Linked DNA regions of Homo sapiens: region 2 is linked to region 1. The links are contacts of gene promoters, found by promoter capture Hi-C in human tissues and cell types (Jung and others, 2019). All regions are on one chromosome and are shown on one strand. The core of a region is centred on a gene start or on the middle of the fragment in contact, and the rest is flanking DNA. Distances in the headings are between cores, read along the strand shown. Region 1 holds the start of FOXE1 (forkhead box E1). Region 2 overlaps PTCSC2 (papillary thyroid carcinoma susceptibility candidate 2).

Region 1 (6,818 bases), core at 2,651-5,150:
ACAGCCAGCTTGTCTAGCTGAATGAAGGAGAACCCTTGAACTCCATACCTGCAAAGATTCTTAGGGAGAGGAGGGCGGCCCAATACCTGCACTCTTCAAGGTCACAAGGCTGGGTCTGGAATTTGGGCCGACGGGTGGCAGGGTCAGCGCTCAAGTGCTTCCAGGTACCACCACCAAAGCCAGGAAGGGCCAGCACCTAGACCTGCACTGCACAACACAGTGTTGCTACTGAACACCTAGCAGGTGACTAGTCCACATTTAGAGAAGCTGTAAGTGTAAAACACACTCCAAATTGTAAACCCTTCATGTAAAAGGAGAGCAAAACATCTCAATTTTTACATTGATTATATGTTGAAATCATAATATTTTTGATATGTTGGGTTAAGTATATCATTCAAATTAACCTCACCTGTTTCTTTTTACTTTATTAATGTGGCTACTAGAATATTTAAAATTACATATGTGGCTTGCACCATATTTCTAATGGAGAGCACTGGTTTATACAAATCCCCATTTGGACTGAACCAAGTTCACATGTCTTCGTGAACAGGATAGTGCAGTCCCAAAAATAAAAAATAAAAATTACCAATGGTTTTCATACAATCTTCTTTTTCACACCCCAGCCCTTCCCTGTTAAGTTTATACAGAAAGAGGCTGAGTTTCTCTTGCCATAACTCACTTGCTCAAAGATTTTTATTAAAACAGTCCATCTGAACACTCCAGTTTATCTGAAAGCTGTGAATGGAGCCTCTGAAATATTTAATGCTGAAAGTTTTTGCTCCAGAATCGAAACTTAAAGATTTCTCAAGGGAAAGGGGGAGAGTTATTGGACTTTCTCTAATTTTAGTGAGCCTGCTACTTAAGCAAGATACAAAATGAAGTTAAAATTCCAGTTTCTTTCTAAAGCTCACTTTACTGACTGCCCTAACTTAATTTTTCTCTTTCCTTTTTGCATGGGGGAGGCTGCTGAGGTGTAGCAGGGGGTGCTGGGGATGGAAGAGCCCTCCCCAGCTACTGAAAGGCGTCACCAACGGGCTCCTTGAATCCTCTCATCTCCTTAAACTTTAGTTCACCCTTTGGGTCCAGGGCTGCGTGATGACAAGAAACAGTGGACAAATGAACGAATGTACTTCTCTCTGCCTTATAATGGAAAAGCAGATTTATGACTGGGCAGTAACAGCCATGAAATTACCAGCACGTCCTGCTCAAAAGTTCAATAAGTTATGATATAATTGCTGCCTGGAGCCAATCCTGGGACTTTAGGTTAGACGCTTGGCCATGAACTCTTTTCCGTTCCCTAGAACAGCGGCTAGGCTTTGGGTGGCTACTCAGAGGCCCTGGGTGGCCCACCATTGCTGCCAAATACGCAGGGCAGCATCCAAGATGATGGGGCCCTGAATGATAACCCGGGGGCGGTGGATAGAGTCCTGCAGCCCTCTAGTGTAACAGATGGGGGAGACTGAAGGTTCAGGTGATGGGACTGGAGTGCTGACGCACAGTTCAACTCGGAGCTAGGTCTCAAGTTCTCAGAGACAGGGAAAACCAGCCCAGGTCAACCAGAGCAGAGATTTCTCCAATTTAAAAAAGAAGAAAAGCCTATTTCTTTTGCAAATTTGTCCTCCTCACTTTAAGAAGAAAGGCGCTGCCGCAGCCTTTTATTGTAGTAACGCAGTTAAAGGCACTAGAGGACGAACCGCGTAAAAAGGCCCGAGTTCCGGCAGCACATGGAAGGCTGAAACTGATTCCCCACAATTTGGATCCTGGTCTCTGGTGTTGACACTACGCTGCCCTCTGGTTACCGCCAAGGACCCTCCCCGATAGAATACCAGAAAGCATCCCGTTTGAGGGCTTCGCTCCATCGAGGGTCCCTGTGCCAGTCCAAGGGCTCTGGCTGCCTCGCCCCACCTCCTCCCGTTTACAGAGTACACCGGGTGCCTACGCTGTGCGCGGGGAGACCGAGCCTCTGTGGCCTGCTCGGTCTTTTCCACGTGGGTCCCAGTTGAGTCCTCTCTCCATTCCTGTTCGTTCTCAGATTGCGGGGAACGTGTGAACAGCCGATGTGTCTATGAGTTTTCGTCCCTACGCTGGCTCACATGGCGGACACGAACCGATCTATCCCACCGGGATAAGCGGCAGCATGGCGAGCATGGTAGGCGCCTGCACTGGCCCCTCCGAGCTGCCCGCCAGGGTTGTAGCAGGCTCCCAGCGCTCCGAACTGGCCGGGCGACGTGCGCCCGTAGAAGTCCACCGTGGTCTCCACGCCGCCACTGCTGCCGCCCGCTGGGGGCGAAGCGGGTCCCGCCAGGCGGCCAGCAGCGGCAAAGATCGCACTGCCGGCGCCCTGCGGGTACGCGCCGTCGGGGCCCGCGTAGGCAGCCGCATAGGCGGAGGGGTTGGCCGGCCGGGCCCCGGTGCAGCCTGCGGGCTGGTAGCCGGTGGTGGTAGCGGGGGCGCCGGCGGAGGCAAAGGCGCAAGAGCCGCCGGGCCCCGACGGTGCGGGCCCCAGCTCTGGGCTGAGCGGCCGCTCAGGAACCAGGCCGAAGACGCGGCAAGGGCCGGGCGACGCCGCGGGGTAGTAGACTGGAGGCGGCGCGGCCAGCGACGGCGGCGCGTAGCCTGCATAGACGGCGCCCGGGTAGGGGGGGCGCGCGGCGGGCACCGCGCCTGGGAAGATGGCGGCGGCGGCGGCGGCGGCGGCGGCGGCGGCTGCGGCAGCCGCCGCGTCGTGCATGTAAGCCGGGTAGGTGGAGAGGTCCGAGCGCTTGAAGCGCTTGCGGCGGCGCAGGAAGCTGCCGCTCTCGAACATGTCCTCCGCGTTGGGGTCAAGCGCCCAGTAGTTGCCCTTACCCGGGCGGCCGGCCTCGCGCGGGATCTTGAGGAAGCAGTCGTTGAGTGTGAGGTTGTGGCGGATGCTGTTCTGCCACTTTTTGGGGTTGTCGCGGTAGAAGGGGAAGCGCTCGGTGATGAACTTGTAGATGCCGCCCAGCGTGAGGCGGCGCTCGGGCGCGTGCGCGATGGCCATGGCGATGAGCGCGATGTAGCTGTAGGGCGGCTTCCCGCGCTGCAGGGGGCGCTTGCGGCGCCGCCCGCCCGCCCCGCGGCCCGTGGCCTCCCCTGGGACCCCGGCCCCTGCTGCCGTCTCGCCGCGCTCTTCCTTCACGGTAGCCAGCACCTCCGGCTGCGGCGGCGGCGGCCCGCTCTCGGCAGTCATGGCGCGGGCGTCCCGCACCCCCGGGCTCTGGATCCCCGCGGCTGTCGGGGGGCGGGGGCGGGCCTGGCGTCCCCGGAACGGACGCTCGGCCCTTCTGCGGAGAGCTCAGGGGATCGTCGCGGGCTGGCCCCGAGAGCCCAGCGGCCCAGGCTGGCACGCGCTGGAGGCTCAGCGTCCGTGGTCTGGGGCTGGCGCGGTGCAGACAGAGGCTCGGGAGTGACCCGCTAGCCGACGGCTCAGCCCGCGTGGTGCTTCTCGAGGCGGGCAGCGGCGGTGGCCTCGTGACCGGGACTGGACTCTGGTCTCCGGCTGAAGGGTCCCTTGCGCGCTGGTGCCGGGCGGTCGAGGGGTCCGGAAGTGATCCCTGGGTTGGGGTGGCTGCAGCTGGTCTGTGGTGCCCGCTAGTTTAGGATTACTGCCTAGGTTGTGCGCGCAGAAGAGGCTTCGGGCTCGAAGGCCAGAGCGAGGGCAGTTAGTACTGGCGCTGGGCGATCTGGCGGGGGCCGCCCATGCCCTGCCCCCGAGGCCAAGGTGGCCGTAAGCGCCACGGGCAGAGAGGCGAGGCGGGGGCAGCGAGGTCGGGGCGCGGGCCCAGGCGGGGCGACCTGAGGCTGGTCCTCTCCACGGCGTGGGTCTCCAGCCCTGCGGACCGCTGGCGAGGCGCTCCCCTGCACACACCGGACCGGCTCCTCCCTCCGCCGGCTTCCCCTCCTTAAAGGGGCCACGAAGCGTGGGGCGGCACCGGTTCCCTGCCCGCCCCCCGACTGCCCGCCCCCCGGGGCCCGGGCGCACCTCCCCAGGTAGGAGCAGCTGTGGCGGCGCGGTAGGAGCCCCACAGCGTCAGGGCGGGGAGGGCGCTTGGAGATCCCCCGGGTCGGCCCCCTCCGCACCCCGATCGACTGAGGCCCGGAGAGTTCAGGAACCGGCTCGGGAGACCTCAGCGCCCGAACTCGGAGTTTTCGGACTTTTCAGGCCTCTGCCAAGGGCTTGGACTCGCAGGTGAAAGGACGGGCTCATCTCACTTTTTTGTCCTGAGAGGGTGAGAATTGGCCGAGAGGGCGCTTGGTTTTTGTGGGAATGGGGAGGGAGAAGTTCCAGGAGACTGGCTCCCCGGGCCTTTCAGGATGGTTTCCAAACCCCAATCGTGGCTGCCACAGCCACTCGGCACTCCAGTCCCCCCATCTTTCGAATGAGTATTCCTAGGCCCGAAAGGGAAGGTGACTTGCCATGGCCCCACTGCGGCTTCTCCGCTTAGCGGAGTCTCCAACCTGCGTCTCCTTTAGGACTGCGCTTCCCAACTGTGTGGTAGAGGTAGCCGCTTTCCCTTTTTGGGCCCCAGGTCCCTCGACTGTACCGGGGTCTGGATCTCTCAAGAGTCCTTGCGTGGTAGATATTTAGGGATAGGCCAATCACCACCCCCAATCATCCGTCTTTGAGAGGCCCAGGATCTGTCTCTATTTGATGGATAGTGGTGCACGGATTAAAGACGACGCAGGATAGGTAACCTCCTCCTCCAATCCCCCGGGACCAGGGTAGCTCTGAAGACCCCCAGAGGCAGCCAAGCAGCCCCTTCCCGCAGCGGGGAGTGAGGGCTGCGGGTAATGGGGGAGTGGGAAGAGAGCGGTGGCCGGGTGGGCGCGTCTCCGGGGGAAGGGGCGGGCAGTCGGGACACGTTTGCTTCATGGGTGTCCAATTTCTGAGTTCCTTTCCTGCTGTCCCTGAGCCGGAACTTGGTCCTAACCTGAGATCCTCGCGGCGCGGCCCCTCTGGCCCGGGTTCGTTCCCTGGCCATTCACTGGGAGATCCAGGGCCTGTCCTTGTCCCCTCGCAGGGCCTCAGTGTTCTACTCTGTTAAATAGCAGCTGGAGGGCGTGTGCTGATCTCCGAGGCCCCTGCTACGTATAGGATTCCGGGCCTTGGCGCGGGTTCCAGTGGCTCCAGCCCGGACGCAGCTTTCCGGGGTGGGGGGGGGGGGCGGGCCGGGGCTGTGGGTGCAGAGCCGCGCGGATGGTGGTGCCAGGTGAGTGTGGGAGATCCCAAGACGAGAGTTCTGGCCAGTAACGGGTGGCATGCCTTCCAGGGTTTTAGTCGCGTTCTTCGTGGCGGTGAGCTGAGGGCAGGCTAAGCCCGGCCAAGCGTTGGGCAGCTGCCTTCGGAAGAGCGAGGCAAAGCCCAGATCCTTGCTCCGTCGACCCGGTGTGTGGAAACGCTCAAAGCGTTTGCTTGACAACCTTCTGCGGCAGAGGGTTGGTCGAACGAAGGGAGAGGGGCTTTACACTCGCTAAACAAAACTCCTGGTTTCCTTCTTCCCAAGTAATGGAGAAGCAAAAAACCCAGATTTCGTCCTGTTTCGTTTTTACAAAGGAGGAAAAACTTCAAATTTTAAAATTTTTAACTGGATTATATTATAGGCACCTTTTAATACGGGATTTCGTGGCTCTCAGTAACTTTCAAGATTCTGAGATTCAGATATCTAGATTTTAAATTCTGGACGACCGTTGTCCTAACGTGATTCCATAAATCTAAAGAATGCGATCCTGCGATCCTGCGACCCTGTAATTCTAAGATTCCAAGACTGGGAGTCTAACTTTGACTATGCTTATATTCCTTTGACTTAAGCTTCTAGTCAAAGTCTAAAAACCTATGTATTAAGATACTGGGACTAAACCAGGCACGGTGGCGGGAGCCTGTAGTCCCAGCTACTGGAGGTTAAGGCAGGAAGATCGCTTGAGCCCAGGAGTTCCAGGCTGTAGTGCACAATCATTGTGCCTGTGAGTAGCCACAGCACTCCAGCCTGTGCAGCAAAGGGAGACCCGGTCTCTTAAAAGCAAAACAAAACAAACAAAAAACGGGGACCTAAGATTTTGTGCCTGAAAATATGATGCCACTCTTGAAGCTGCCACTTCTCCAGTTTTTTATTTTTTCCACTCTAAGTTATATATTATTTAATTTGAATTCCTGTTTAGGAATGTCTGATTGGAAGAATTTGAATCCTGTAAATCCGCAGTTCTCTCCTTCCTTAATTCTAAAATGTTAGTGCTGGATCTGCTATTCTGTAGTTCAAATAATCTGATTCCAATAATTCTTCTAATGTTTGTGATTATATGCTGTAATGATTAGTCCCATGACTTTATGATCCTCTACTTTTAAGCTGCAACGACTATGGCTAAAAGCCTTCTTGTCTCAGGATTTTCTGTTCTTCAGTGTCTTGTGTCTGTGACCTCATTCTTCTAGAATTCTGATGGTTTTCTCAAACTTTGTTAATATCAAGCTACTCCTGTGGCCGAGACCAAATACCTAGCATCATGAGATTAGAATTTCCAAGATCATGATTCTAAGATTTTCGCAAACCAAGGACCCCTAAATTTCTATTTCATAAATGTTCTCTTTGAATAATGCATTTGAAGATTCTGTGAGTCCACAGTGAGTTCACATTAAATGATTTGGTGAGTACACAGGTCACAAGTTTACCCGTTTGGATCAAAACCATACACAAAAATCTCCTCGGGGCATTTCCTATCTCTTCCCATTGCTTCCTTCTCAGTTTCTTGAGAAGGAACATGGTCATGGCCAAGTCCTCCCCTCTTCTCTGCCACAGTGCTCCTTA
Region 2 (6,818 bases), core at 1,726-4,225, 84 kb after region 1:
AACTTCCTGCTACTGTGTGCGCAATCTCAGTGTTAGTCAGAAAACCCTGAAAGTCCGGACTTCCAGGACCTCCATGATACAGATAAAGAAACTGAGGCTGAGGAGCAGGAAGGAGTAGCCTGTGACCATGCAGCGTCTTGTAGCAGAGAGGGGACCAGAACTCAGGGCACTGGGCTTCTGTCTAGTCTTCCTCCATCATCCCCAGTGGAAGTGGTCCAGGGTGATCCTTGGGCTAGGAGGGAAGATTTATGGAAAGGCTCTCACACCCAGTGCCTGGCTCACAGGGGATCCACAGTTTGATTTTCGGGGAACAAAATTTGGCATCAGCCAGACCCAGGTGCCAGTCCTGGCATCTTGGCTTACTGGGTGACTTTGTACATGTTACCTGCTTCCTGCTTAACTGTCAGTTTGTTCACCTGTAAGTGAGGATAATGACACCTTCCTCAAAGGTTGCTGTGAGGACTGGCCCCACACAGTATTTGGAAAACAGTAGGCATCATGTTGTTCTGATTATATTGTTGTTCTTGTGGATTGCCGTGCTGGACAGAGCTCTCCCTGCCCAGGAGCAGAGCTTCCCTGAGGGCTCCTGTGGGCTACACCTTGGCTGGGGGCTTCCAGGTGCAGCACCTCACTTCATCCTCACCCCAGTCAGCCCATTTGACAGAGTTGCACATGGAGGCTCAGACAGAGTTACTAGCCCATTTGACAGAGTTGCACATGGAGGCTCAGAAGGGAAAATAACTTGCCTGAAGCCATGCTTTCATTAGCAGTGAGATGGCAGCATTTTCAGTCTTTTTCTTTCTATCTCCTCACTCTCTTTCACCCTTTATTTCCTGTCCATTGCCCTTTCTCTTTACTGTAGAGAAGTTTGAGTGATGCCCAGTTCATTACAAGCCATGCCCCCTCAGGCTTCTCACACCCCTCCCTCATATAGCCCATCTGCACCCACCTCAGGTTTCAGGCATTTGCTGGAAGGTGCGTGGGGGTGCAGGAAGACACTGTGTCTGACCAGGCTCAGTGTGTGTGTGTAGGGGGGACAAGACTATGACATGCACCAGCCTCAGCCCTGGGTATGATCTCTCTGTAATAATATTGATGACAATGTTGGTGTTAGCTTCCATGGCTGAGCACTGAGCCAGCATTCATTGTCTCCTTACTGCAACATGTGGGCTCCATACTACTAGCTCCCTGCTACTGGCTCCATTTTAAACATGAAGAAATGGAGGCTGAGAGAGGTGAAGTGACTTGCCCAAAGTCACATAGTCGGTAAACGGTTACAATTTAAACCCAAGTCTTTTGCCCCTGTGGTCTGTGCCCATAATCAGATTCTGTATACCTCTGAACTCCTCCACCTTCCTTGGGGCCTGGAGTCTTGGGACTGACACAGGTTCAAACCTGGGTTGTTTCTGGTCACATCCATCCTTCAGATTCCTGCAGTTGTCCCCTCAACCCAGAGTGACAGCCATGTATACATAGGCAGTCTAATGGGAATAATAATGCAGAGTTATTGAAGATGGAATACAAGCAGAGCACTCATTAAGGTGCCTGGCACATGGTGAACACACAGTGTATGGCAGTAGTTGTTATTATAGACATGACGTTGGCCTCCTGTGGAAATGTGGGGGTCCATGTGCTCAGGGGAAAGGGAAGTAGAGGAAGTCAGGCTAGCAGGACAGAGCATCCCGTCCCTGGTGACCTGTTAAGGCTGCAGCCAGAAGAAAAATAAAACTTAGGGGCATGGTCGTTGTCTCTGAGGGGCTACCCTGGGGCAGAAGGAACAGATGTGGTCTGTGGGGGCCACAGAGGACAAAGCCAGTGGGGAGGAGTTGCGGGAGGGAGGATGATTTTTAAATACTCAAAGAAGGAAAGGGTCGGCTTGAGTGGTGTTGAATTCCCCAAACTGGAGGTGAGCGAGCAGATGCTGGAAGTGGGCCGGCATCTGTGTCGCAGAAGGCATTTGAATGGCTGCATGGCATGATTACTGAGGTCTCAGACAGGAGTGTTACAAGACGGCTGATTTTGACCCTGACTGAGCAAGTGTTTTCTGGCAGAGCTGTCTAAAGATGCATCTCGCTGCTTCAGGGAATGGTAGTGAGGCTCGTGTCTTGGGGAGTGTTTAGGCAGAAGCTGGATAGTCACTGGACAGGGACGTTGTTGAAGGCATTAGTATATCAGATAGCAGGCTGGATTAGATGACCCCTTAGTGAGAGGTGACACGGCACTGGAGAAAAAGAGGGGGCCTGAGTCTGAAGTCTGATCCAGGCTCTGACATTTGCCTGTTGGGAAATCTTGGGCAAGTCACAACCTCTCTGAGTTCTGATTTCCTCACCTGTAAAATGAAAATCATAATTCCTTCCCTCCTTGCTGTCTAGGATTGTAGCGAAGGGTTGGAGATACGCAAACTGTAAAAAGGCTTTGTGAACTCTGAAGCTGCTGTGAATGACTCGTTTGACTCACTTGACCCTGTTGGGGGACAGGAAGAGTGGCTTTTGGATCTTAATCCAAAAAAACACAATCCCAAACACCATCATCCTGAAAGCTGAATTCTGGAGGTGGGATTAGTGGGGGTTTCGGTTGCACACAGAGCAGTTACATTATGTTAGTTGCATCACGTTAGGCGGAACTATTACCTTGCTGTTGTCTTTATTTGCATCTGGTGGAAAATTCAGATGAGTTGTTTGGCCAAGCAATATTGCAGTTATGAAAACTTCTGTTTAAGAATGTTTCCTTGGCCTGCATTGACATTCCTTCTAGCTGATGACATTCCAGGAGCTTTTAATGAATTAAAGCCACATTTGCCTGAAGAAGCTGGTGACGTTATTGACTAGTTTGAAAACAATTATTTTCGTGGTAGGATAAGGAGACAGCCAATGGTGTTACAATGTGTTACTGTTTGATCGCCATTATCGTTTCCACCAAATTTGTGGTCTGTATATGCACGCTTGTGGAATGCATTTTGGAGTACTCAAAACAACACAGAAGCAGGGCTCAAAAGATTGGAAAATTTAATAGGAAATGCTAATGTCAGTGTGTATTGTATCATAGAAGGATTTCAAAAAGAGCAGTGCCACATAGAAAATGAATGTGAATGTATTTTCCAAGGAGATCTGTGTCCAAAAAAATAATAAGCAGCTATTTATCATGATGCAAGACTTCAAAACATAGTTAATAATCATGAAAATCAGCTAGCTCTTATGGACTATCTCTGTGCAATTGCCCATAATCTATCCCTATAATACACTTTTCAATATGTCAAATTTTCTTTTTAGTTTTTAAATCTTTTGGGGTTTTCCCCCTACTATTTAAAATTGTCAGTATTATTTTTTACAATTCACTACCCTTCATATCTCATCTTTGCATCATTTCCAATACTTGTAGTATAAATTGTATAGAGGCTTTCAGAGTTCTAATTTGTTTTATGCAGCTTTTACAAATTTGACTCCATGAAAGTACAGCATCACAATGTTGGCTTGTGTGTAAGCATTGTACATGTATGTAAAAACATTGAAGCTTCCTCAGTAAAGGAAAATATGTCCTTTTTTGTACATCTGCATTTGTAAAAATAACATTTCTTGAGATCTTGGCCCTTTGGGTGACTGCATATTTGGTGGTGACGCACCATGGTTTTTTATTGATGTCATCAAAAGACTTAGGATGTTCATCATGGTATTTCAGATGACTGCCGTTATAAATCTGGGTGCCTACAACTACTAACTATGGTGGTATGCATTTATACATTTCCATTTGTAACCTATTTCTTTATGAATATAGTACATCTGCTCATAACTGTCATACTTGTATAACTGTTGTTAGTACACTTGAGTATTTATGCTTGCAAAAATATGTATGATATTATTGCCTATTTTATTGTGTAAAGTGGCCTATGTGTTTTTGTGTTTCTCAAATAAATCTTCTTTTAAAGATGTAAATAAATATCTTTTCAAGAATTTTTAAATTATTTTTTCCAGAATTGTGTTTTTGGGATTTTGATCCTTCAGGATTTTTCAATATTTGGGATTATGGTGTTCAAGGTTGTCTCTTCCGGGATTATGATCTGCTCCTGGAAAGGGGTGTGGAGAAAGATGGGTGGAAAGGAAGGAGAGAGAGGAGGAAGGAGGCTGTGTCTGGCCTAGTGCTGGGTGCTGGGTTGGAAAAGAATGGTGTTTGTAGCAGATGGTCTGCCCCTCTTAGTTCTGCAGCCATAGTTTGAGTTTCTAGAAAAGGACTTTCTACAATGATGGAAATGTTCTATGTTTGTGTTGTCCAATCAGTAGCCAGTAGCTACATAGGGTTATTGAGGCCTTTGAGGCTAGTGTGACTGAGGAACTAAATTTTAACTTTTATTTAGTTAGTTTAATTTTTTTTTTTTTTTTTTTTTTTTGTGAGACAGAGTCTCCCTCTGTTGCCCAGGCTGGAGTGCAGTGGCGCAATCTCGACTCACTGCAACCTCCGCCTCCCAGCTTCAAGCAATTCTCCTGCCTCAGCCTCCTGAGTAGCTGGGGCTACAGGCACATGCTACCATGACTAGCTAATTTTTGTATTTTTAGTAAAGATGGGGTTTCACCATATTGGTCAGGCTGGTCTCGAACTCCTGACCTCAGGTGATGCACCCGCCTTGGCCTTCCAAAATGCTGGGATTACAGACGTGAGCCACTGCACCTGGCCCAATTAGTTTAAATTTAAATAGCCACATGTGGCTGGTGGCTACCATACTGGACAACTCAGCTCTAGAAGAAGTGACAGGAGCCTCTCTTCTTTCCACCTTTCCTATCCTCCTTTCTTAGCAGGTGTTGTTGACTTATGCTGTGCTGGACACTGTGGAGGCCACCAAGATGAACAAGATATGGTCCCAGCTCCCGAGAGCCCCCAGCTCATTGTGTGAGAGGGACAGATAAGCATGTGGATAGAAACTACAACCCAAAGGGAGGCGTGCAGCCCTCCAGCTGTGTGGGAGCAGAAGGAGGAAGCTATTCACTCAGTTGGGACTGCGAAGGCTGTACTGTGAAGGATGAGTTAGGAGGCCTGGGTGGGAGAAAGCCTTTTTGAAGAGGGAAGAGCAGAGCCAAAGCTTGAAGGCAAGAAACAGCATAGAGTGTTTGGAGAATTCAGACTGAGGTGAGGCTGGGGAAACCAAATCCCACACTCTGTTCCCATCACCAAGCAATGACTGGTGAGCTGACGGAGCGAAGAGCTTCAAGGTCAGTCCTAGTGAGGGTCCTGTTCACCCAACCTGCCTTGCACCATTCAGGACATGTAAAGGGTATGGCACTGGGGGCCCCTCCCTCCACCTCCAACTCACAGAGTCTTGTCTCCCTGCCTTTCCTGCACAGAAGGCCTCAGGGCCCCAAGATCCTCCTTTGGCAAAATCCCCAAGAGTCTCCCTCTGACAACACACCCTTCTTTTCTTCACCCTTCTGACCGAAAACTTAGTCCTGACTCATGCCTTGGCATTCCTGGGCTGGGGTGTCTGCTGATTTTACTGGTGCTGGGCTGACAGCTGGACTGACTTCCTGCATTCAGCACCACCTCACTTTAGTCCATCCCATGACAGCAGTCCAGAGAACCTTTCTCAAAGTGACTAGGACAAATGTCGACACCTGAAGGTTGATTCTGGACATTGTGTGTGGATGTCTTATGATCACCATTCTCTTGCAGAGACTAGGGGGAGAAAACTTCCTGCCTGAGAACTTGATGTGGCCCAAGTTTAAGGAAAGCTTTGGCCAAGGTAATCATTGGACGTAGTGCAGTGCACATCGTGGGCTACCTGCCAGTGCCGTTTTCCTTTTGTTCCTTCCTAACAGAACCCGAGTGTGATTGAGGTAACCCCATCATACACTTACAGACACAGCCAGCTACCCCTGGGGGTCTCTGACCCCACCCCCAACTTCAGAGGAGTGCTTGATTGGTCTAGGGAAAATCCCATTTCACTTGCCAGTGTCTCTATCTCAACTCACTGATTGAGGAAAGCCATGAGATCTGATTTTGGCCAATGAAACACAGGAAATATCTGCTGAGGACTTTGGGGAAGTTTTCCTTGCCTTATCCCTGGGAGGCAGACATAGTAAGAAACGGTTCCCCTACTTCCTCAGATTGACATCATGTGGAAGATTCCATACAGATGTGATGTTCGAAATTGATGTGTCCTTGTTTCTAGGCAGAGTAAGGAGCTTGGAAGAACCTGAAGACACCATTGAATCCCTGAATCAACCTACCCTGAAGCCCATCCCAACTCCACACTTTCTGTTTTGTGACATAATACATTTCTGTTATTTGAGGCTGGATGCTTCTTTTTTTTTTTTTTTTTTTTTTTTTTGAAACAGAGTTTCACTCTTGTGGTCCAGGCTAGAGTGCAAAGGAGCAATCTTGGCTCAGTGCAATCTCCACCTCCCAGGTTCAAGCGATTCTCCTGCCTCAGCCTCCCAAGTAGCTGAGATTACAGGCACATGCCACCACGCCAGGCTAATTTTTGTGTTTTTAGTAGAGATGAGGTTTTACCATGTTTGCCAGGCTGGTCTTGAACTCCTGACCTCAGGTGATCTGCCCGCCTCGGCCTCCCAAAGTGCTGGGATTACAGGCGTGAGCCACCGTGCCCGGCTGGCTGAATGCCTCTTAACCAATACAGGGAGATGAGGTGCACTGGTTGGGACTCTTACCATTTTAAGTGATAGAAACACAATTCCAACTGGTGTGAGCAAAAAGGGGCACGTATAAGATGGATATCCATGTGGGCGGGAGAATCTGTGCAGATTATGTGCATTTGTAAAAATGTCTTCTAGTAGTCTAGAGTCTACACTGGCTTTGAGAATTATTGTTTAGCT

What was found. Contacts are between HindIII fragments. The study calls those that stand out against the background at their distance.
Region 2: a contact is called between a fragment that was not itself captured here and the fragment with the promoter of FOXE1 in region 1, in 7 of the 25 tissues and cell types used here (IMR-90 fibroblasts, aorta, heart right ventricle and 4 more).

The regions. Positions count from the first base shown.
Region 1 is chr9:97,850,308-97,857,125 of GRCh38, reverse strand. FOXE1 (forkhead box E1) reads right to left here and starts at 3,900. Exons shown (of 1, transcript NM_004473.4): 1 at 409-3,900. The coding sequence starts at 3,211. The coding sequence ends at 2,090. It overlaps PTCSC2 (papillary thyroid carcinoma susceptibility candidate 2), which reads left to right and starts at 4,046. Exons shown (of 11, transcript NR_147055.1): 1 at 4,046-4,210. RefSeq lists an enhancer at 4,932-5,433. The HindIII fragment of the contact is 9,888 bases long and covers 1-6,818 here.
Region 2 is chr9:97,764,908-97,771,725 of GRCh38, reverse strand. The region is part of intron 5 of PTCSC2 (papillary thyroid carcinoma susceptibility candidate 2); the gene reads left to right. Among named protein-coding and RNA genes, the nearest start is that of XPA, 71 kb to the right of the region's middle. The HindIII fragment of the contact is 8,607 bases long and covers 1-6,818 here.